Regions from separate parts of the Homo sapiens genome. Here all the other regions are linked to region 3. Evidence: promoter capture Hi-C in 16 types of primary human blood cells and fetal thymus (Javierre and others, 2016). All regions are on one chromosome and are shown on one strand. The core of a region is centred on a gene start or on the middle of the fragment in contact, and the rest is flanking DNA. Distances in the headings are between cores, read along the strand shown.

Region 1 (3,079 bases), core at 466-2,965, 490 kb before region 3:
CACTCGGGAGACTGAGGAAGGAGAATCGCTTGAAGCCGGCAGGTGGAGGTGACAGTGAGCCGAGATGGCACCACTGCACTCAGCCGATGCGACAGAGCAAGACTCTGTCTCAAAAAAAATAAAAAAATAAATAAATTCCATGAACTAACACTGAATAACATTTAAAATTCAGCTTCTCACGCCAGTTGTACCAGTCACATTTCAAGTGCTCGGCAGTCACAAATAACTGACAACTATAAAAATGAACAGGGATAGGGAAGATGTGAAAAGCACAATTAAGTTTGTTTGAATAGACACCTGGGGTAACTGCACTCAATCCCAGGCCACACATGCTTTCTAGGCACCCATGGGGCATTTTCAAAAGTTGGCCACATTTCAAAAATACCAAAAAGTGGTTTGTTGGGGCCATATTCTGTGATCAAACTGTGGTAAACTTGGAAATCAGTAACAAAAGGTAGTAACAAAATCCATAGTTGTCAAATGAAAAACACACGTATAAATAATTCATTTTCAAAGACAAAATCATAAAAGAAATTAGAAAATGTTTAGATTTGCATAATAACTACTTATCAAAACTTGTGGGGTTCAGCTAAAACAGTACTTACAGACAGGTTAGTCTATTTTACCATTTTGCTTCTCAAAAATCTAGATTTGGCTGGGCTCGGTGGCTCACACCTGTAATCCCAGCACTTTGGGAGGCCGAGGCCAGTGGATCACCTGAGGTCAGGAGTTCAAGACCAGCCTGGGCAACGTGGTGAAACCCCGTCTCTACTAAAAATACAAAAATCAGCCAGGCGTAGTGGCGCGCACCTGTAGTCTCGGCTACTCGGGAGGCTGAGGTGGGAGAATTGCTTGAACCCGGGAGGTGGAGGTTGCAGTGAGCCGAGATCATGCCACTGCACTCCAGCCTGGGCAACAGAGTGAGACTCTGCCTCGAAAAAAAAGAAAAAAAAATCTAGTTTTGGCCAGTCATTCTTAGCGATTTTTGTTCTCTGTTCCATTCATTTCTGCACATACATTTATGGTTCCATTCCTTTCTTGGGTTTGTGGTGTGGCTGGTTTCGTGTTTCTTGATTTAGATTCTTAACTCAAGAATTTTAACTATCTATTATATTACAATATGTGCAGTTTTAGGTTACATATTTCCCTTCCCAGCATTACTTCAGCTGCATCTCCTTAGACTGTGCTGCTTCACTGTGCTTTTCTCTTCTTTCTGATCCTTATTAGTTTTTATGATTTTCAGTTGTGAAGTGGAAAATCTTCCACTCTGATGTCAACTTGTCAATTTTTCATTGTAATCTGAACCTTTTTTATTTATATATTTGAGCTATGTTTGTCATTCTACGGTAATCTCTGAATCTTTACTAATGCTTTTTTACTTGACATTTATTTTGTTTGGTATTAATATAACTTCATAAACTTAAAGAGAATAAAGTATTTGCTAATTTTTAAAATTTCTTCTTGAAACCTAAATTGTTGGTGTTTCTGTATTTTGCATCTCTTAGGAAAGCGTATAGCTGGATTTGGTTTTGTCGAAGCTCTATTTTAACTTGCAAGTTCAGTTTATTCATATTTATTGACACATTTGGATTCACTTCTGCAATTTTATTTTGTGATTTTTATTTCTTGTGATTTTCCTTGGCTTCTTTCTCCCTCGTTTTCTGTTTTCTGTGGGGCTGAGGCATTTTTTTCCTTCTTCCTTTTTCTTTCCAAATTCTGTTTTTATTTTTAGTAGATACATGCATACTTGGCTTAAAGTCTAAACGCAATCAAAATCTATACAATCCTCTAGAATATTAAAAGGACGTTGGAATATTTGAATGGTAATTATACTATTCTGTATGTGTTTTTCTGAACTGTTATTTTAGTTTCATCTTATTTCTTGTTTTCATATCACAAAATTTGTCCTTATCATCATTTAATAACGATTAATCTCATTTGGATTTACTTACATATTTTATATTTTCTCCTCACCACTACTTTTTTTTTCTTTTTTGAGGCAGAGTCTCACTCTGTCACCCAGGCTGAAGTGCAATGGCACGATCTCAGCTCATTTCAACCTCCGCCTCCTGGGTTCAAGCGATTCTCGTGCCTCAGCCTCTTGAGTAGATGGGATTACAGGCTCCCACCACCATGCCTGGATAATTTTTGTATTTTTAGTAGAGACATGGTTTCACCATGGTGCCCAGGCCGGTCTTGAACTTTTGACTTCAGGTGATCCACTGGCCTTGGCCTCCCAAAGTGCTGGGATTGCAGGTGTGAGCCACCATGCCTAGCACCCCACCACTACTTCTTGACTCTCACTCCTTCCTTTGGATTTAATTTGTTTCTCTCTGAAAAATATCCTTTAGGAATTCTTTCAGTGAAGGAATGTGATTGTTCAATTTTTAATTTTTGTTTGTTGAAAGTGTTTTAAAAAATATAGTTGCCACCCTGACTGGCAATGTTGTTGGGTATAAAATTCCAGGTTGACACATACTTTCTCTCAGCATGGTGAAGACATTTCCTCACTCTGTTCTGGCTTCTATTGTTGTTGTTAAGAAGTCAGCTGAATTATAGTTCCCTTGTAGGTTATCTGCCAATATGGGCTAAATTGTGCCCCACTCCCCAGGATGACATCCCAATCCCCAGTACCTCAGAATGTAATCGTGTTTGGATAAGGTCTATAAAAGGTAATTAAGTTAAAAACGAGGCCACTGAGGGGGATCCTAATCCAATCTGACTGGTGTCCTTATAAGAAGAGGTAGAGACACACGGAGGAAAGGCCATGGAAGAGCATACTGGGAAGGTGGCTATCCGCCAGGCAAGGAGAGAGGCCTCAGCACAAACCAAACCTGCCAACACCGACAGCTTGAGCTTGGACTTCCAGCCTCCAGGACTGAGAAAAGGAATTTCTGTTGTTTAAGCCTCCCAGTCTGTGGTATTTTGTTATGGCAGGCCTAGCAAACCAATACTTCTGGTTTTTGCTGTTTACTCTGTTTTTTTTTTTTTTTTTTTTTTTTCTTTAGACAGAGTCTCACTCTGTTGCCCAGGCTGGAGTGCAGTGGTGCAATCTCGGCTCACTGCCACCTCCACCTCC
Region 2 (3,074 bases), core at 260-2,759, 400 kb before region 3:
ACTAAAATGAAAACATATTAGAATTTGTGGGATGCCATTAGAGCAGTACTTAGAGGGAAATTTTTAGCCTTAAAAATGCTTCCATTATGAAAAAAGAAAGAACTTCAATCAATGGTCTCATCTTGCGCCTTAAAGGCCAGAAAAAGAAGAGCAACTTAAATTTGAGGAGCAGAAAAAGAAAACAATAAAGATCAGAGTAGAAATCAATGAAGTAGAAAATAATAAAATGCAATAATAATAGAGAAAATCAATGAAACCAGAAGCTAGTTATTCAGAAGCTTAATAAAGTTGATAAACCTGTGGCTATATTCATCAAGAAAAAAGAAGAGAAGACACAAGTTACCAGTATCAGGAAGGAGAAAGGTGACATCACTGCAAATTTATTTTGCAAATATTAAAAGGATGGTAAAGGCACATATTATGGACTTTATACCAGTGTATTTGACAACTTAAATAAAATGAACAAATTACTCAAAAGATACAAACTACCAGAGTTGACTTAAGAAACAGATAATTTGGCCCTATATCTATTCCAAAAGTTGAATTTACTGTTAAATTCTTCCCCAAAGAAAACCTCACACCTAGATGGCTTCACTAGCAAATTATGCCAAACATTTATGGAAGAAATGATACCAAATCCACACAAACATTTTCAGAAAACTGAAGAGGAGGGAATACTCCTTCCAGGAGGCCATCATACTATGATACCAAAACCAAGACATTAAAATAAAAGAAAATTACAGCAAATATCCCTCATGAACATAGGTGAAAATATTCTAAACACATTTTAACAAAATGAACCTAACAATAGTTTAGTTAAAGAAAGACAGTACAACCAAGTGGGATTTAAGTCAGGAATGCAGGTATAGCTTAATATCAGAAAATCAATCAATGTAATTTATCATATTAATAAAACCATGAAAAATCATATGACGAAGCCAAAAATGCAGAAACATAAAAAATTCAATATACTTTAATAATAAAAACTCTCAACAAAGTAGGAATAGCAGGAAACTTTCTGAATCTGACAAAAGGCATCTGTAAAAACCCTACAGTGAACGTGACGCTTAATGTAAAAGCTTCAATGCTCTTTCCCTAAGACTGGGAACAAGACAAGGGTGTTCTCTTTCATCACTTCTACTCAATATTGTACAGGTTCTAGTCTGTGCAATACGGCAAGAAAAAGAAATAAAGGGCGTCCATACTGGAAAGGGAGCAATAAAGCTGTTTTTACTTGCAGACAACATCATCATCTATATACAAAGTGTAATGGAATCCTTAAAAATATTTTAATTAATAAGCGAGTTCTGGCTGGGCGCGGTGGCTCACGCCTGTAATCCCAGCACTTTGGGAGGCCGAGGCGGGCGGATCACAAGGTCAGGAGATCGAGACCATCTTGGCTAACACAGTGAAACCCCGTCTCTACTAAAAATACAAAAAATTAGCCGGGCGCGGTGGCAGGCGCCTGTAGTCCCAGCTACTCGGGAGGTTGAGGCAGGAGAATGGCGTGAACCTGGGAGGCGGAGCTTGCAGTGAGCCAAGATTGTGCCACTGCAATCCGGCCTGGGCTAAAGAGCGGGACTCCGTCTCAAAAAAAAAAAAAAAAAAAAGCGAGTTCAGCAAAGTGAAAGGATACAAGATCAATCAACAAAAATCTATTGTTTGCCATGTGCTATTAGCAAACAATCAGAAAATAAAAATTAAAAATACCATGTATAGGCCAGGTGCGGTGGCTCACGCCTGTAATCCCAGCACTTTGGGAGGCCAAGGTGGGTGGATCACGAGGTCAGGAAATCGAGACCATCCTGGCTAACACGGTGAAACTCCGTCTCTACTAAAAATACAAAAAATTTGCTGGGCATGGTGGTGGGCGCCTGTAGTCTCAGCTACTTGGGAGGCTGAGGCAGGAGAATGGCGTGAACTCGGGAGGTGAAGCTTGCAGTGAGCTGAGATTAGCCACTGCACTCCAGCCCGGGCTATAGAGTGAGACTCTCTCTCTCAAAAAAACAAAACAAAACAAAACAAAACAAACCCATTTATAATATAAACATATAAAATAAATATTTTGAGATAAATCTGACAAGATATATGAGAGACCTGTACACTAAAAACTGCAATGCTGGCTGGGCGTAGTGGCTCACGCCTGTAATCCCAGCACTTTGGGAGGCTGAGGCGGGCAGGTTGCCTGAGGTCAGGAGTTTGAGACCAGCCTCACCAACATGGGGAAACCCCATCTCTACGAAAAATGCAAAAATTAACCAGGCATGGTGGCGGAAGCCTGTAATCCCAGCTGCTTTGGAGGCTGAGATAGGAGAATTGCTTGAACCCGGGAGGTGGAGGTTGCAATGAGCTGAGACTGGGCCATTGCACTCCAGCCTGGGCAACAAAAGCGAAACTCCATTTCAAAACAAAAACAAAAACAAAAACAGAAAACAAAACAAAACAAAAAACCCACTGCAATGCTTTGCTGAAAGAAACTAAAAAAGATCTAAATAAATGAATGGTTATACTATATTTATACATCAGAAGACTGAAAATTGTTAAGATGTCAATTCTCCCTGGACTGATGTATAGATTCATTTCAATCCCAATCAAAATCCCATTAGGCATTTTTGTAAGAATTAATAAGTTGATTCTAATATTCATATGGAAATGCAAAGAACTTGTAATAGGCAAGACAACTTGGAGAAAAAAAGAAAGTTGTAGAATTAATACTATCCAATTTCAACTTATTATAAACCTACATTAATAAAAATAATGTCTTATCGCTATGAAGATAGACAAATAGGTCAATGGAACAGAAAAGAGTCCAAAAATGAAAGGCAGGATGTGGTTTATAGACTTCCTTCTCTTTGAGGTTCCTGAACTGGAAAGACATGAGTCCAATGCTGGAAACAATTTCCTCCGGTGAATGGAAAGCCTGTGAGAGAAAGTGGCCAGTGCAGAGGAAAGAAAAGCATGGGTGGGGGGGATCAGATGGATGCTGATCGTGGAGCACCTTGATTCAGCCGAGCCTGCAGCCACTCTTCTGTTGGACTTTTCAATTAGACAAGCCAATACATTTTGTTCATTTT
Region 3 (2,929 bases), core at 62-2,561:
GGGCTGGAGCCTGGGGAACCCAGAGGGCCCCGACTCAATTCCCCATGGGCGGCCACTGCCTCAGTCTATCCCAGGAGGTATGGGACAACAGTTCTTATCCTTGAGGCTGGGAGAGGAGTAGGCAGGGACCCCCCAGCTGCTGTGGCCCACCCTTTCACCTGCCAGGCCCCCCGGCCCCAGGTATGTAATTTCCAGACACCTGGCTGGGGGCCCAGGTGCCCCAAGGGCCACAATGCACCAAATAACCTCTCCCTGCTGGTAGGGCTGGAGCTGTCCCGCCCTGGGTGGAGTCCCTGCCATCCGCTCTCTCCCCTCCTCCTCCCACACAAACCTGCGTTCCAGCTGTGGGACATCTGGGCTGGGGGAGGAACGCCAGCCCAGGCCCCTCCCATCCGAGGCAGCAGGGCCCCTCGGGCTGAGCTCCCTAGCTCACACATGGTGTTACAGACCGGGAAACTGAGGCCCGCAGAAGGGAAGTCCTGGCTGATAACTCTTTGTGGAAACAGCAGCAGGGAAGGAGTGGAACCCTGCTTCCCTCCAAGCCCCAAGTTCTACCCAAGTTCGGCGTGGCCCTGCTCGGAGGGGTCGGCCTAAGGAAGTGTCACTTACCCGGAGGGTGGTCCCGGGCCCGCTGACCAGCTTCCACGCCTGTCGCTTGAGCTCCACCAGCTTCGTGTGGCAGTGGCGGCACCAGCCGCCTCCGCCGGCCGAGTGGCCCTGCTCTGGGCCGGCCCCGGCGCCTTCGGGAGCAGGGCGGCTGCCGCATGGGTCCTGGTCGGGCCCGGCGGGTAGCCTCTTTCGGGGGGACACCTCCAGCAGCGGCGGCGGCTCGCGGGCCGGGCCGCCCTCGGCCACCTGCAGGGTGTGGGGGCGGAAGCGGACAGTGAGCCTGGGACGTCCGTCGGATCCAGACCCCTGCGCGCCCTGCCCCAGCGTGACGCTCTTGCCAAAGTTAGGAGCCCTGGGCACGACCCTGGCGCTCACCCACTCCCTCCATCCCCGGAGGTCCCGCCTGCGGGTCCGCTACCCTCAGCAGGAGGCCCGGCCCCCAGGGATCCAGCGCACACCGCGAGTATCTTCGCCGTCCCGGGCCCCCGCCGCCCGCCTCCCTCTCCAGGCCGGGCCGCGCGTACCGCGGGCTGCGCAGCGCACAGAGGGACGCCGCGGCCGACCATGGCCGGGGCGCGGGAAGAGCCCGGCAGGCGCTCCCGGCCACGCTGGCTCTCCGGGGGCGCCGCGGCTACGTGATCCGGCCCCGAGGCGCCCCCATGGCCCGGCCCAGCCGCTCGGAAGTTCGCAGAGCCTGCGAGTGTCGCGAGGAGCGCGGTGGCTCCGGTGGGCGCGCTCGGGAGGCGAGGGCGGGGCCGGGGAAGGGCGGGGCTCGGGCTCCCGGGGCGGGCGGCGAGGGGCGGGAGCCCAGAGAGTGCCCCGCCCTTGCCCAGTGCTGGGCGGCGCGTGGGGGGGGTAGGGTCCCCGCTTCCCCACGCGGCCCCGCGCACTCCAAGGACCCCAACCTGTTAGGTGAGTCCCTGCCCCGGGGAGGGGCGCTGGGGGCGGCGGCGAGGATCTAGTTGCGCGCGCGCATGCGCCTCCCGCCCCTCTCCCGGGACACCAGGGCTGCGCGTCTCCCAGGAGGCGCCGACGCCCCTCCCTCTACAGGCGGGAAAACTGAGGCTGCGGAGGGGACGCTCTTGCCCAAGGCCCACGGCGAGGTGGGCCGAGGAAGGGGCGGGACCCCGGCCCCGAGACTCCCAGGCGCCTTTCCAGCAAGCCCAGCGTACTCTGCGTGTCGCGGGCCACTTTAGGTCTAACTGTCGCGCGTGGGTTAGTGTCGCCGCGGTGTGCGCCTCGAGCCGGGCAGCGACCGCGCCGGCGTATCTGTGCCTCGGCGCGTCTGCGAACGGCACGTGTCTTTACAGCCGCGCGTGTGCCCGCAAGTGGGTGTGCGCGCCGTGCCGCCCGGGAAGCGGGAGGTCCTGCGGGCGTGCGCCGGACCTGTTGTCAGCAGGCCTGGCAGATGGGAACTCAGCTCCGGAATTAATTGCTTGTTTGTCTCCGGCTGGGAGGCCGCCCCCCCGCCCTTCCCTGGCGACCAGTTGCTCTGTGCCTAGCCGGGCCCCAAATGTCGCCGGCATCCGCGGCCGCAGGCAGCTCCGGGCCAGGCTCCGGGTCAGCCCCAAAGCCCGGGTCAAGCCAGGCGGGCGCGGCGGGCGGGCTCCCCGTGACGCGAGTGCCCCCTGCCGGCCGCTGCGCACACGGCTCCGAGACTGGGGAGACAGCGCCGCGCGTCCCAGGCCTGAGGCGCACTCGGAAACTCCGAAGGTCGTGACCCGGCGGAGACCAGGACACGCGGCTGCCGGCACATACGGTGAGGCCTTCGCAGAGACTCAGTACGTCAAAGTGACCCTTTCCGTTTTGCCCACCCCCTTTTACTTGGATAAGCCTCCCCGCCCACGCACGCACTCCCCAGAAAGTGGGGTGGGTGATCCCCTCCCGGCTTTCCGGGTCGTTGATGACCTTAGGGGTTCGAAAACGCAAGGGGGTATGGAATAAAGTGGCAGGGGCTCTCCACTCTTTCTGAGATCCGTAAGCCTGCAGTCGCTTTCCACCCAGCCTGGGGGGCCGGAAGCGCTTCCCCTACCCGTCTCTTCGCAGCCTGGAGAATGAAAACGGGCGTCAGCCCACATCTGGATCTGGGTACTGAGGACAACACCCAAACCCCACCCCGCACTGCCGGCAGACAGCACCGCCTCCCGCCGCTCCACTGCTCCGGGACACACACTCTCTATATCCCGTCCCCCCACCCACACACGCAACACAGAAGCACGCAGCGGTCGGGAGCACCGGTCCTGCGCCCCTGGCCAGCCACACCCGCAACTTCAGCGCTTCTACCGCCGCGGCGCTTCGGGAAGCACAAGCTCACATCCCA
Region 4 (2,700 bases), core at 198-2,697, 470 kb before region 3:
GCCCTGTACTATGTATTTCTGGACTCTTTCCCACACCTGGCCAAAGCCAGCTGTCCTGGATCCTTCCAGGCCTCAGGCAACAGGACAGACAGGCCCTGACTGGGAGCTGGCAGGAAGGAGAAAAGCAAAGCATCCCTGAGGTAGGGGCGGTACTGCAGCAGAGGACAAGGATAGGAGGGAGCTCTGCAGCCTGGGGGTCAGTGGGGGGAGCCATACCACCCCTGAAGTTCCAGGTGGACATCTCCTCCACAGAGGGAGCTGGGAGTGTCCTCCCCTAGCCCCAGTGACAGCGGCTGGAGCACAGGGTCTCTCTCCCCTCACTCATGTGTGCAGATGGTAGTCACAAGCTGGTGAGGCTGTGGAGAAATAGGAACACTTTTACACTGTTGGTGGGAGTGTAAATTAGTTCAACCATTGGGAAGACAGTGTGGTGATTCCTCAGGGATCTAGAACCAGAAATACCATTGGACCCAGCAATCCCATTACTGGGTGTATACCCAAAGGATTGTAAATCATTCTACTATAAAGACACATGCACACGTATGTTTATTGCAACACTATTTACAATAGCAAAGACTTGGAACCAACTCAAATGCCCATCAGTGATAGACTGGATTAAGAAAATGTGGCACATATACACCATGGAATACCATGCAGCCATAAAGAAGAATGAGTTCATGTCCAAAACCGAACACCAGCTGTTCTCACTCATAAGTGGGAGTTGAACAGTGAGAACACATGGACACAGGGAGGGGAACATCACACACTGGGGCCTGTTGAGGGGTGGGGGGTAAGGGGAGGGAGAGCATTAGGACAAATACCTAATGCATGAGGGGCTTAAAGCCTAGATGACAGGTTGATAGGTGCAGCAAACTACCATGGCACATGTATACCTATGCAACAAACCAGCACATTCTGCACATGTATCCCAGAACTGAAAGTAAAATAATAAAAATAATTATATCAAAAAAGATGAAATAAATCGCCAATGTCCATATGAAAAAATGTGCTATTTGTATAATACACCAAAGACAAAAGGAAGAGCAGTTCCAGAAGCAAATCCACTTATATGTGAATTTAAAATATTTTAAAGTTAAAATTTTTAAAAAGTAAAAGAAGTTCAATATACAATTGCCACCCATATAAGGGGAAAAGGTTGATCACCTTTCACAATATCCAAAACATTGAATTGAAAGTTATTTAAGCTTTAAAAGAGATTTTGTAAATAGCAAAAGTATTAAATTTTTAAAGACTATAAAAAATAAAATGGGGTAATACAAACACATGACTTGACAATTTGCTTTTTTAAATATAGCACTAGACAGATAATCCTTCAAGCCAATACTCACAGAAACGACTCCCGTTTAACAGCTCAAAACTTTCCATTATAAGGAGGTGCCAGAATGTATTAAATTGCTCCCTGGTTTATAAACATTCTGGTTGTTTTCCATTTTTGGCTGGTACAAACCGTTGTAATAAACATTCATGTACACATGTCCTTATGAAATGAGGCTTTTCTGTTGAGCCCCCGTGTTTCAGAAGTGGTGGATCTGGGTCAAAGCATGTGCGGCGATCTTAGCTTCTACTGACTGTGCCAGTTCCCGCCAGAAGACCACGGGGCTCCCTCCTCCCTGGGGTCCCCAGCTTTGGCAGGCCAGGAGTGGGCATTATCAGCCTTTTAAAGCTTTGGGATTTAATTTTGGAGGCAGCCTGCGTCCAGTGATGGGTCAGTGTGGAGGTACAAAGGTCCAGCTCCTGCTCCTCTGTGGGGTCGCTCTGAAGGGGCTGTTCCCAGGGGATTGCTTCTGTGTCACCGAGCATTTCTCCCTTGGCCCAGTCCTGCTGCTCTTGGTGGCTCACAGGTGTTGCTCCTGAGAGGAACCCGCACACTCAGTCCTCCTGTCTACAAACCTCGAGGTCCAGCGTCAGTTCTCCTAAACTAGGGGTGGTCCTAGGAGGCAGACACACATGGGATTTGGGGCTAGACTAACCACTGCCAGTCACTGGCTGCGGTCCCTGTTGCTGTGGCTGGTGCAGAAGTGATAGCCCTGCCGTGTCAGGGACCCTCTCACCGTGGTGCCCCAGGTGCTGTATTGGGTAGGGGAGGAACTGCACTGGTTGGTGCCTTATCTCAGAAGCACGAGAGGCAGAGGCAATGTAGGAATCACAGAGCCATGGATCAGATGGCTGTTGCTGGGTGCTACAAATTCCTGGAGAAAGATGATGGGAGCCGAGCTTGACTCATCTCCACTCAAGGCTGGGTGTGGGGGCAGTGGGCCTGCTTGGCAGCCTGTCCAGAGAGTCTCATCCCCTACGGTTGGAGGCAGGGACAGGTGGGGGTCCAGTCCAGGGCTTAAATTCTAAGAGCAACATAGCTCCTGAGGTGATGGGACCCTCAGCCTTGGCAAGGCTGCCATGCTGGCCTCAGGCCTCCATGGTGGGCCCCTTTAGGATAGAACTTATTCCCCAAACTGCCATATGAGCTGCCCTCGATGGCTCCTGGCTGCCAGCCTCTTCTGATGCTGCCTCATCCCAGGTCACTCCCTGTCCCAGGCCAGCTGCTTCCAGTGACTGATCAACATGTGCTTACAAAGGCCCAGGCCCTTGACCCTGGGGTCAGCTGAGCCACCACTGAGACTGTGTCTCGGCCAGGAGCCCCTCTGCCCTCTCCTGTTTTTCTTTTCTTCCCCATCTGTGCTC
Region 5 (2,814 bases), core at 136-2,635, 380 kb before region 3:
GGAGGCCACGACGCCTCCTGTCTGAGGGCAGCCAGCTGAACAAACCGGGCTCAGAGCTCATCAGGTGGATGAGTGCTGGGCCTCAGAGGGCTCTGGGTCTCTTGTCCAGTGATGGCCTCTCCAGTGACCTTTGTGTCTGCCCCAGCTCCATGGCCACAATCCGGATGTTGCTGTTATCCTGGAAGAAGAGCCCCAGGTCCCAGGATGGCTGATGTTCAGGGAAGGCCCATGCAGTGGGGGTGAGATGGTGCGGGTCTGCGTGGGAGGAGACTGGTTGGAAGGCAGCAGCACTGAGGGCCGGGGGTCCCCACACCACCCACAGCCACAGACCCCATCCTCTAGTGGAGGCTGCTGCCGTCCCCAAGCTGGGCCTCAGGGCTCTGAGCAGGACTGTCCTCCTGGCTTCCTGTGCTTGGGATGAGAACATCCTGGCTGACCCGGCAGGCCCCAAATCCAATGGCAAATGTCCTTGTAAGAGAACATGGAGGAGGCACACAGAGGCAGAAGAAGCCCACATTGAGACAGAGACGGAGTTGGAGGGAGGCCTCCACAAGCCCAGGAATGCTGGAGCCCCCAGAAGCTGGAGGAAGCAGGAGGGGTTCCCGCTCGAGTCCTTGGGGGAGCGCAGGCCTGTGAGGGAGGCCAGCACACTGCAGGCCTGTGACTTTACCCCAGAGGCCTTGGCAGGATGTTATCACTGAGCCATACTTGTGGCAGCAGGGCTCCCATCCTAAGAGAGGAAGGGGCCTGGAGGCCACAGGGGAAAAGGGCCATGGGAGGTCAGGAAACCAGGCTCCAAGCCTGATCTCCAGGACCAGGATGGCTGCTGGGAAGGTACCCTGAGGGGGCCTGCATCTGCAGCCAGGGAGAGGATAAGGAAGCCAGGCCTGTGGCCTGGGACCTTGTAGAGCTGATGGGGAGAGGCCTGAACTGCTCTAAGGAGATGAAGCAGAAGGCCCCTGTCCACCTCTGAGGCTGAGCAGATGCTCAGTTTTGTGTGGCCCCAGCATCCTGGCAAGGCGTGGTGCTGACCCAGCTCGGGAAACCTTCCCTGAGATGCTTTCACTTCTGACTCTCCCTGCACAACCTCCTTAGATGGCTCCCACTCTGCCCACACTGATGAATGGGCAGTCCTGGGAGCGACAGACAGTGGGTTCCAATTCTATGCCGCTGCCACAGTGGCCAGGCTGCAGCCCCCAGGGACTCTATAGACCCAGGTAAGAGTGACAGAGTGAACCAACAAAACTGTCTATTAAAATGTGGAAAACAGAAGATGGAAAAATCCTGAAAGTAGCTGGAAGAGGCAGACGATCTTCAAAACAGCAGCCAATATCCGCACAATTGGCCCCTCAGTGTGGTCCACAGAACCCAGAAGACCATGACCATGGAGCACACTCACAAAGATGGCGTGAGGTGCAGCATCTTGTATTCATCCTGGAGGAAGGAGCTTGACATACGCCACACCTCTGGGCCCTGGAGACTTCACTGATGGGCAGGCCTCTGATGTTTTGTGGGGTTTATTTCCTACCTTCTAGTTAGTGTGTGTCTTACTAAGGCATTTAAAGTTATTTTCACTTCCTGCTCATCAGACACAGTCAGCTCAGTGTAATGTCATGAGTGTAGAGGACCAGCGTGATGCTTTGTAGGTGGGAAAATCTCTGCTTCTTATCACTGCAGGTGGGAGAACTGGCATGACCCAGAAGCAAGACTGTGAAAGGGCACTGTTGGCCCGGCCAGGTGAGAAAACCAAACTGCTCTGGTGATCTTTCCAAACTGGTACAGAGAAGACATTGGTGAGGTCAAGAGCTGAATAACAAGGGCTAGGGGCCATGCCATTTTCTACAGTAAAGATAATACATGTGGGACAACAGGTGCACCTGGATTCACCACCTGCTTCAGTTTACATCAGTGCACGGTCATTCTCCAAGGTTCACCCAACTTTTACACAGGCTTGACAGCCGAATTAAATGTGTGTGTGTGTGTGTGTGCAATGATCACTTCTGTTTCTTTCAAGCCTTGATGATGGCGTTAATCTCTGCAGTTTCCCCGGGAATGTGATATTGATTCTGGTTCTCTTATGGATAGGAAAGGAAGTCCCAGCGTTTTCCATCTAGTTCCTCTACCACAAATGCCCTCACTCCAGGGCTCAGGGAACCATGCTGGGGATCCCGCTAGTTGGCAGTATGTCTATTCCAATTATACATTCAGGAACTGGGGATACAACCAGACTGTGGGTCCGTGGACAGCCTACCCTGTGAGAGGTGAGCTAATGGGGGTTCCATCCATGACCTGACCACTGTATGTTCCCATGTGACTGATGGGCTGTGCTCGTGTTTTGGGTTCCCAAGGATTAGCATCAATTCAGAGCCCTGCAAAGTTCCATTCTCCAGCTCACAGTTACTCCCATGAATGGTCGTACATCCCTTTGGGAAAGGCGTGGAGGAGTATTTCCAGCATGGGCTGCAAATCACAGGTCATTGGATTGTGCATTGAGTTGGGTGTGCAAATGGGTGAGAGGCTGCGACTGGCCACTGCGGTGACTCAGGTCGGGGGTTTGGCTGGCACACCTGGGGTTCTCCTGTTATTTAGACCAAAGAATACCCTAGTAGGCTGCCCACCACTTTTGTCCTTGAGACCCTGTGATTAATTAGCTGCCACCAAAGACCTTGGTGATCAAGGTGCCATGGTTATGTGTGTCCCTGCTTTCCCTCGCTGTCGGTGGGCTGCCTGGTCTCTGATGTCTAGGTGCTGTGTTAGCCTCTGCTACTTCAGGATACCATCGTCCCCACTGAAGGGAGGAATTTCTCATGGTGA
Region 6 (2,700 bases), core at 22-2,521, 440 kb before region 3:
CAGTGGGGCGACTGCAGGCGTGGGCCCCGGGGGCAGCCGGTCAGCCCAGGTTCCCACTGTGGGCGCCATCCCTGGTCTCCGGGCCTGAGGACCCACCGCAGGGACCTGGCTGCGGCCGGCCGGGGCCGAGCATTCACACGTCACACACAGCCTCATTCTCACACCAGAAGCGTGCATTCTCTGTGGCGCAGGCAAGCCACACATCTGTGGACATGTGCGCCGAACTGTGAGGGCCACGCTGTCCGTGTGCAAAAGTGCTACGTGCTGTAAAATAAAAATAAAACCCTAAGGCCCCAACCGACTGAACAGGCTCCTCTTGGCCAAAGGGACTCCAGAGAAACCGGAACAACTGAGTTCCCAGTCATGATGGGACAGGAGGGCAGACGTGCCTCGCTCTCCCCCTTCCCTGCGGGAGTTCAGGCAGGGCTGACCAGTAGTGACGTTAACCTAGTGATCAGAGGACTGTGACCCTAAGACTCGAATTATAAACAGGACCGAAGGCCGCCAGCCCAGGGTCAAGTCATGCACCCCACACGCCACTGTGACCTGGTGTATCGGTTAAAAGACTTCTTAATCTTCACCGAAAACATTCCTTTCTGATGACTGCACATTTATAGACAAAGCTTTACTTCTTTAACTAATTGCAAATGAAATAATCTCTGGCCCCGCTGACGACCTGTCAGCCCCCTGCTTCAAGACACCCTGCCTTTCTGGGCTGAACCGATGTAGAAGCTCCTTGAACTATGACTGCCTGCAATTCCGTCACACTAAGGTGGGTGGGAAGCAGAGCTGGTGTCTGGCTGCCTCAGGACCCCCCACTCAGGGCTCCCTGGGTGTGTGCACTTTTTCCTGGGCCGCGGTCACTCATATTGGCTCAGAAGAAAGCTCCGTGTTCTACGGAGTTGGGTCTTTCCATTAACCATGCTCTCCAAGCGCTAGATGGGCAGAATGCATACTTGTGTGCAACGGCTTAGCTCCTCACAGGGCTTAGCTCCTCTTCCCTCCCCACCGCCTCCTGAGCCCCAGGCCTGGCCTCATTGGCAGATAAGGACAGGGGCTCTGTAGGGGGAAGCTCCTTGCCGGGCTGTGAGGCGGCAGCTTACGGAGTGGGCTCAGATCCAGGGGACTGGGTGCCGCCCTTGGTCATGACTCCCCTGCACACAGCTGCTGGGACATGGGGCACAGGCACAGGACACTGGGAAGAGCTTGGCACCAGAACCGGGGGAGGGAGGGCCCCACCCACACCCTGTCCTGGGCCTGCCACCTTGGGCAGTCAGTGCCTGGCCGAGAGCTACTACCTCCTGCCCCAGGGGAATCCTCTCCTTGCAGGGCCGTGGCAGGTTCTGAGGGGCTACTGTGTGCCTCCTTGTGAAAGCGGCAAGGTTGGGCTGGCCGGGCAGGCACACAGTTCTGGTTCACGCGGGTGCCCACCTGGCAGTGGCTGAGTGGCCCAGAGCCTGGGTGCCCAAAGTTCCCTCAGCCCAGGTGTGCCCGTCACTGGTGCTGCCCTCCCTGTTGCCGCCTGGAGCCCTCCGGCCCACTGGGGAGGGCAGCTTCTCCTGATCTTTCCACCGTGTCAGGAGCAGCTGGCCTGAAAGGGCAGAAGTCAGTGTCCAGGGCCCACAGAAACTATGTGCTGGGCAGGAGACTCTCCTGATCTTTTGAGAGCTGTGGGTACGGGCTCTGAGCTGGCAGTGATATCAGGGGACCCAGAACCCCGCTGTGGGTAGAGTAAGGGCTCCCGGAGACCTGGAGGCAAGCCCGCCCTGCAGTGACCCTGGGACCCTCAGCCTCTCGTGCCTAAGGGAAGGGGCTGCCTGTACTCTGCAGTTGGCAGAGCCTGCCCATTGGTTCCTTGACCTAATGATTATGAGCCATTTTGGCAGGAAAAAAACCCAAACGAACAAGTGGAAGCTTCTAAGACCCTGGCCAAGAGAGTCATTCCACACATCCTGAGCATCTGCAGAAATTAGGACCATCCCCAAAGACTCAAAAGATACAGGGATGGTCAGTCCCACTGTCCCCACTGTTCCCACTCTGTTCACCCATATGGTCCACAAAAACCAGCAGCATCATGGCCGATGGTGATGGATGAACCCAACCCAACGCAGAGTCAGCCCACATGGAAAATGCGCCGCCGGATGCGATACCTCGACTGAACCGAGTCACCACATCCTCTGGCCCTGGGTGTGTGCGGTGTGTCTAGCAAGTGTGTCCTTCTCAACCACCTCAGTAGAGAGGGGCCCACCCAGCTGCCTGTGAGAGACAGCAGTGCTCCAGCCACTGGCACTTTCTTGCTACTCTTGCAATCCAGTGCTCTGGGACACTCCTGGTCTGCGGAAAATGATGCTGATCAGCTACATTCGTGACGTCATGCTTAGTACGTCACATGGCAGGTGGTCCAGACCTCCAGGAACCCATGCAACAATGGTAGCCATGATTAATGGACAATGGAGGAAAAACTCTAGCCCCGGTCCCCAGGCATTTGGCTGGGGAAGTCAGTGCAACATAACATGACTGGCTGTGGCACTGGTGACCCCTCGGGTGGCCCTGAGGGCAGGGATGAGCTGTGAGCACCGCCTTGGGTGTCACTGTGGCTGAGGGAAGGATGGATGCAGGCTCCTGGGCCATGGCAGCTGGCCTGGATGACCAGGTAGGAGCCTGTGGGAAGCATAGGCTCGAGGACCAGGAGGTATGGGG
Region 7 (2,834 bases), core at 49-2,548, 460 kb before region 3:
CTCCCAGGCGGGTTGGGGATGGAGGCCTTTGAGCCATGGTGGTCCCTCTGGGATCTTAGCAGGGGCATCATCTGGCTTGTGGGGGGCCCCAGAGTGGAGCACAGTGACTGCCTGCCCCCCACAGTGGGATGCCCCGCCCTGAGGGGCACCATGCAGTGCCCCAGGCCAAAACCCTGGAAGACAGGAACCCTCCAGAGTTTCCACATTCTTCCTTTAAGCAAACCCAGACCTGAAACCCCAGCATCTGCAACAGATGCAGCAGAGCTGAAGGGGCTCCCTGCCTGTCTGTTCCGTGCCTCCACCCTGGGGTAGCTGGGGCACAAACCAGAGGAAAGCAGGAGCACCTGGGTGTGTGGCCCTGCAGGGCCTCCTGTGCTGAGCTGTGCCCTGTGCCTCATCGTGCACTGTCCCAGCTCTGCCTGCTGGCTCGGGCCACCTGCTTCCCAAGAGTGTGGGCAACCTCTGGTACACACGCAAAGTTTCCTTGGCCTCACAGACACTGTTTCCAGCCCTTCAGCCCCTCCAGGGATTTGGGGCCGCTGGGCCCCCTCTTTCTGGCACCCTGCTCCTGTCAATGTGTCCTGGCTTCACGTTTTATGTTGGGGGTGCAGGACACCTACCGGGAGCCCAGGCCTGGCTCACTCCTGGGCCCTCTGATGCCCACTGCTTCCACAGATGCCTCCGTGATGGGGGCAGAGCTTCTGGGCAGCGTTGGTGGGGATGCCACCTCCATCTCTGTCTGGCTGAGGCAGCCCTGCATCTCCTGCCTCTGAGACCCTGTGACCCTCAGAGTGTGGGGCATGGGGGGCAGAGGGTCCAGAAAAGCAGAGGCTGAGCTGGCGTCTTCCGGCCGTCCTGGGTCAGGACAGGGAGGGGCCTGGCCTCTGAGACCCCGTGATCCTCAGAGTGTGGGGCATGGGGGGCAGAGGGTCCAGGAGGGCAGAGGCAGAGCTGGCGTCTTCTGGCTGTCCAGGGCCAGGACAGGGAGGGGCCTGGAGGTTTCCTTCCCCAAAGGCTGTCCTGCTCCATGGAGGAGGCATCGAGGCTAACCCTCCGTGATGTCCCCAGAGACTCCCTGCTGCCCACCCCCTCGCCCAACAATTGTAGGGCAAAGCTCCTGGCTCTCTGGCCAGCGGCTCAGCCATGTCCCGCACTGGCTGTCCTGGTGGTCACCCTCCACCCTATGTCCTGCTGTTTTAGCTGTGAAGAGCTCCAGGACATCGACTTGGAGCTGGGCGTGGACAACTCCGCCTTCTACGATCAGTTTGCAATTGCCCAGGTAGGGGGCTCTGGGCAAGAAGGGAGGCTTGCAATGCTGGGAGGGGGCCATTTACTGCTGGACATTTGCTGAGCTCTCCCCCATCCAGAGGAGGAGGCAGGCTCCTGTGTGGATAAGGTAGTTAGCAATGGGACCAGGCAGTGGGAGCAGTCGGGAAGGCTTCCTGCAGGAGGTGGGGGAGAGCTGGGCTTTTGTAGGTGGGTTTGGGGAGGAGATGGCCACAGTGAGTTAGAATCAGGAAGTGGCAAGGCCCTGGGGTCTGGGGTGGGAAGTGTGGGGGTGTGGGGGGAGGTGGTGCCAGAAACGAAACCAGGCATCAGATCCTGGGGGTCCAGTGTAGGGACAAGGGCTTTGGACTTTGGTGCTGGCGCTGGGTGGGCCTGTTCAGATCAGAGCTGGAGGCTTAGAGGAGTCCCCTAGCCAGGGGGAAGCTGATACAGAGTCCAAGGAAGGAGGCAGGGGATCCCACTTGTGAATTCAGATTTGCCACCCTGCCCTTGTATAAGCTGCGTCCCCCGCCCCCTAGGAGACTTGGTGGAGGGCGATGGTGGCCCCCACTCTGAGGGACGCTATTTGCTGAAATGCAGGCATGTGGGGACACATCAGTGGCCCGTGAGGGCCGGAGGGGGAACCCTGGAATTGGGTTTGCCCCTTGAAATCTGCAGATGTGCCCCAGACGGAGATGAGGCAGATGAGGGGTGCCGGGTGGGGGTGGCTGAGACCAGACACCTGGCTCCTGCCAGCACTGATCAGGGCCCGCTGGCTTCAGGTCCAATTCCGGACCCCAGGCTGGCCTCTGAAGGCTCTTGCTGGCCGTGGCTGGCCTGAGGACGCTTCTCCTGGCCAGGAGCCCTCCAAGGGTGCTGGACATGGGTGGGCCTGAATGCTCTTTGCCGAGATGAACTGGACCTGTCAAAGACACCTTCATGCAAATTTAGTGAGTGGAAGAGGCCTCAGGCCTAATTTGTGCCAGTTGGATTAAGGTGTGAGTGCAGTCTGATGGCAAATACGCTCAAATGAGAATCAGCTTAATGTAGCTCAGGCCTGGTTCTGATTAAATTGTTTCTCCTTCAACTGTTTGGAAACAGCGGCTAAAGGTCAATTTATTCCGGTGGTTGGAGGAGCCTCCGCTGTTTACCCGCCCTCCTTAGAGCCGACAGGCCGGAGCTGCTGGAGGAGAAAGCACTCGCCACTGGCCACTGCCCCTCCTCGGGGCCTCTGGCCGGCCTGGAGTGAGGGTTGGTCTGAGTGCCCAGGGCTTTTGCACCAGAGTGGGTTCCGGGAGGGCCACAGGTGCTGGAAAACGATGCTGGCTGCAGGAAGGAACTCAGAAGCTTGATCTTGGGCAGGGTCTTCAGGAGCTGGCCCTGCCCCATGTCCCCGGCCTCCTCCTTCCTCTGAGTCCTGTCCTTTCCCTGCAGAGCAGAGCCTGGGGGCTGGTGGGAGGGGGTTGCACTGACAGCGGACCCCCAACGGCTTCTGACCCTGACCCTGCCCTCTGTGCAGTTTGGCCTCTGGGCCTCATGGCTGGCCTGGCTGGCCATCACCACGCTGG

Evidence for each region. Contacts are between HindIII fragments. The CHiCAGO score rates a contact against its expected background, and 5 or more counts as called.
Region 1: a contact is called between a fragment that was not itself captured here and the fragment with the promoter of KIF26A in region 3, in 14 of 17 cell types (M1 macrophages, M2 macrophages, M0 macrophages and 11 more). The highest score is 23.5, in M1 macrophages.
Region 2: a fragment that was not itself captured here is called in contact with the fragment with the promoter of KIF26A in region 3 in 11 of 17 cell types (naive CD8 T cells, naive CD4 T cells, total CD4 T cells and 8 more); the score reaches 16.9 in naive CD8 T cells.
Region 4: a contact is called between a fragment that was not itself captured here and the fragment with the promoter of KIF26A in region 3, in 8 of 17 cell types (M2 macrophages, M1 macrophages, naive CD4 T cells and 5 more). The highest score is 9.2, in M2 macrophages.
Region 5: a fragment that was not itself captured here is called in contact with the fragment with the promoter of KIF26A in region 3 in 8 of 17 cell types (total CD8 T cells, naive CD4 T cells, non-activated CD4 T cells and 5 more); the score reaches 10.2 in total CD8 T cells.
Region 6: a contact is called between a fragment that was not itself captured here and the fragment with the promoter of KIF26A in region 3, in 14 of 17 cell types (naive CD4 T cells, endothelial precursors, naive CD8 T cells and 11 more). The highest score is 34.1, in naive CD4 T cells.
Region 7: a fragment that was not itself captured here is called in contact with the fragment with the promoter of KIF26A in region 3 in 3 of 17 cell types (endothelial precursors, M0 macrophages and M1 macrophages); the score reaches 8.4 in endothelial precursors.

The regions. Positions count from the first base shown.
Region 1 is chr14:104,628,821-104,631,899 of GRCh38, reverse strand. No RefSeq gene overlaps it. Among named protein-coding and RNA genes, the nearest start is that of TMEM179, 26 kb to the right of the region's middle. The HindIII fragment of the contact is 4,545 bases long and covers 1-3,079 here.
Region 2 is chr14:104,537,722-104,540,795 of GRCh38, reverse strand. The region is part of intron 1 of LOC124903395 (a long non-coding RNA gene); the gene reads left to right. Among named protein-coding and RNA genes, the nearest start is that of C14orf180, 41 kb to the left of the region's middle. The HindIII fragment of the contact is 856 bases long and covers 1,082-1,937 here.
Region 3 is chr14:104,136,969-104,139,897 of GRCh38, reverse strand. It overlaps KIF26A (kinesin family member 26A), which reads right to left and starts at 1,311. Exons shown (of 15, transcript NM_015656.2): 1 at 1,134-1,311; 2 at 610-855. The coding sequence starts at 1,175. It overlaps KIF26A-DT (KIF26A divergent transcript), which reads left to right and starts at 1,269. Exons shown (of 3, transcript NR_158217.1): 1 at 1,269-2,368; 2 at 2,656-2,929. RefSeq lists a silencer at 2,143-2,312 and enhancers at 2,009-2,720, 2,721-2,929. The HindIII fragment of the contact is 14,398 bases long and covers 1-2,929 here.
Region 4 is chr14:104,610,831-104,613,530 of GRCh38, reverse strand. No RefSeq gene overlaps it. Among named protein-coding and RNA genes, the nearest start is that of TMEM179, 7.4 kb to the right of the region's middle. The HindIII fragment of the contact is 479 bases long and covers 1,208-1,686 here.
Region 5 is chr14:104,520,632-104,523,445 of GRCh38, reverse strand. No RefSeq gene overlaps it. Among named protein-coding and RNA genes, the nearest start is that of C14orf180, 58 kb to the left of the region's middle. The HindIII fragment of the contact is 3,221 bases long and covers 1-2,814 here.
Region 6 is chr14:104,572,533-104,575,232 of GRCh38, reverse strand. No RefSeq gene overlaps it. Among named protein-coding and RNA genes, the nearest start is that of C14orf180, 5.9 kb to the left of the region's middle. The HindIII fragment of the contact is 1,291 bases long and covers 626-1,916 here.
Region 7 is chr14:104,593,610-104,596,443 of GRCh38, reverse strand. It overlaps TMEM179 (transmembrane protein 179), which reads left to right. Exons shown (of 4, transcript NM_001286389.2): 3 at 1,201-1,279; 4 at 2,786-2,834. Among named protein-coding and RNA genes, the nearest start is that of TMEM179, 9.7 kb to the left of the region's middle. The HindIII fragment of the contact is 2,635 bases long and covers 1-2,615 here.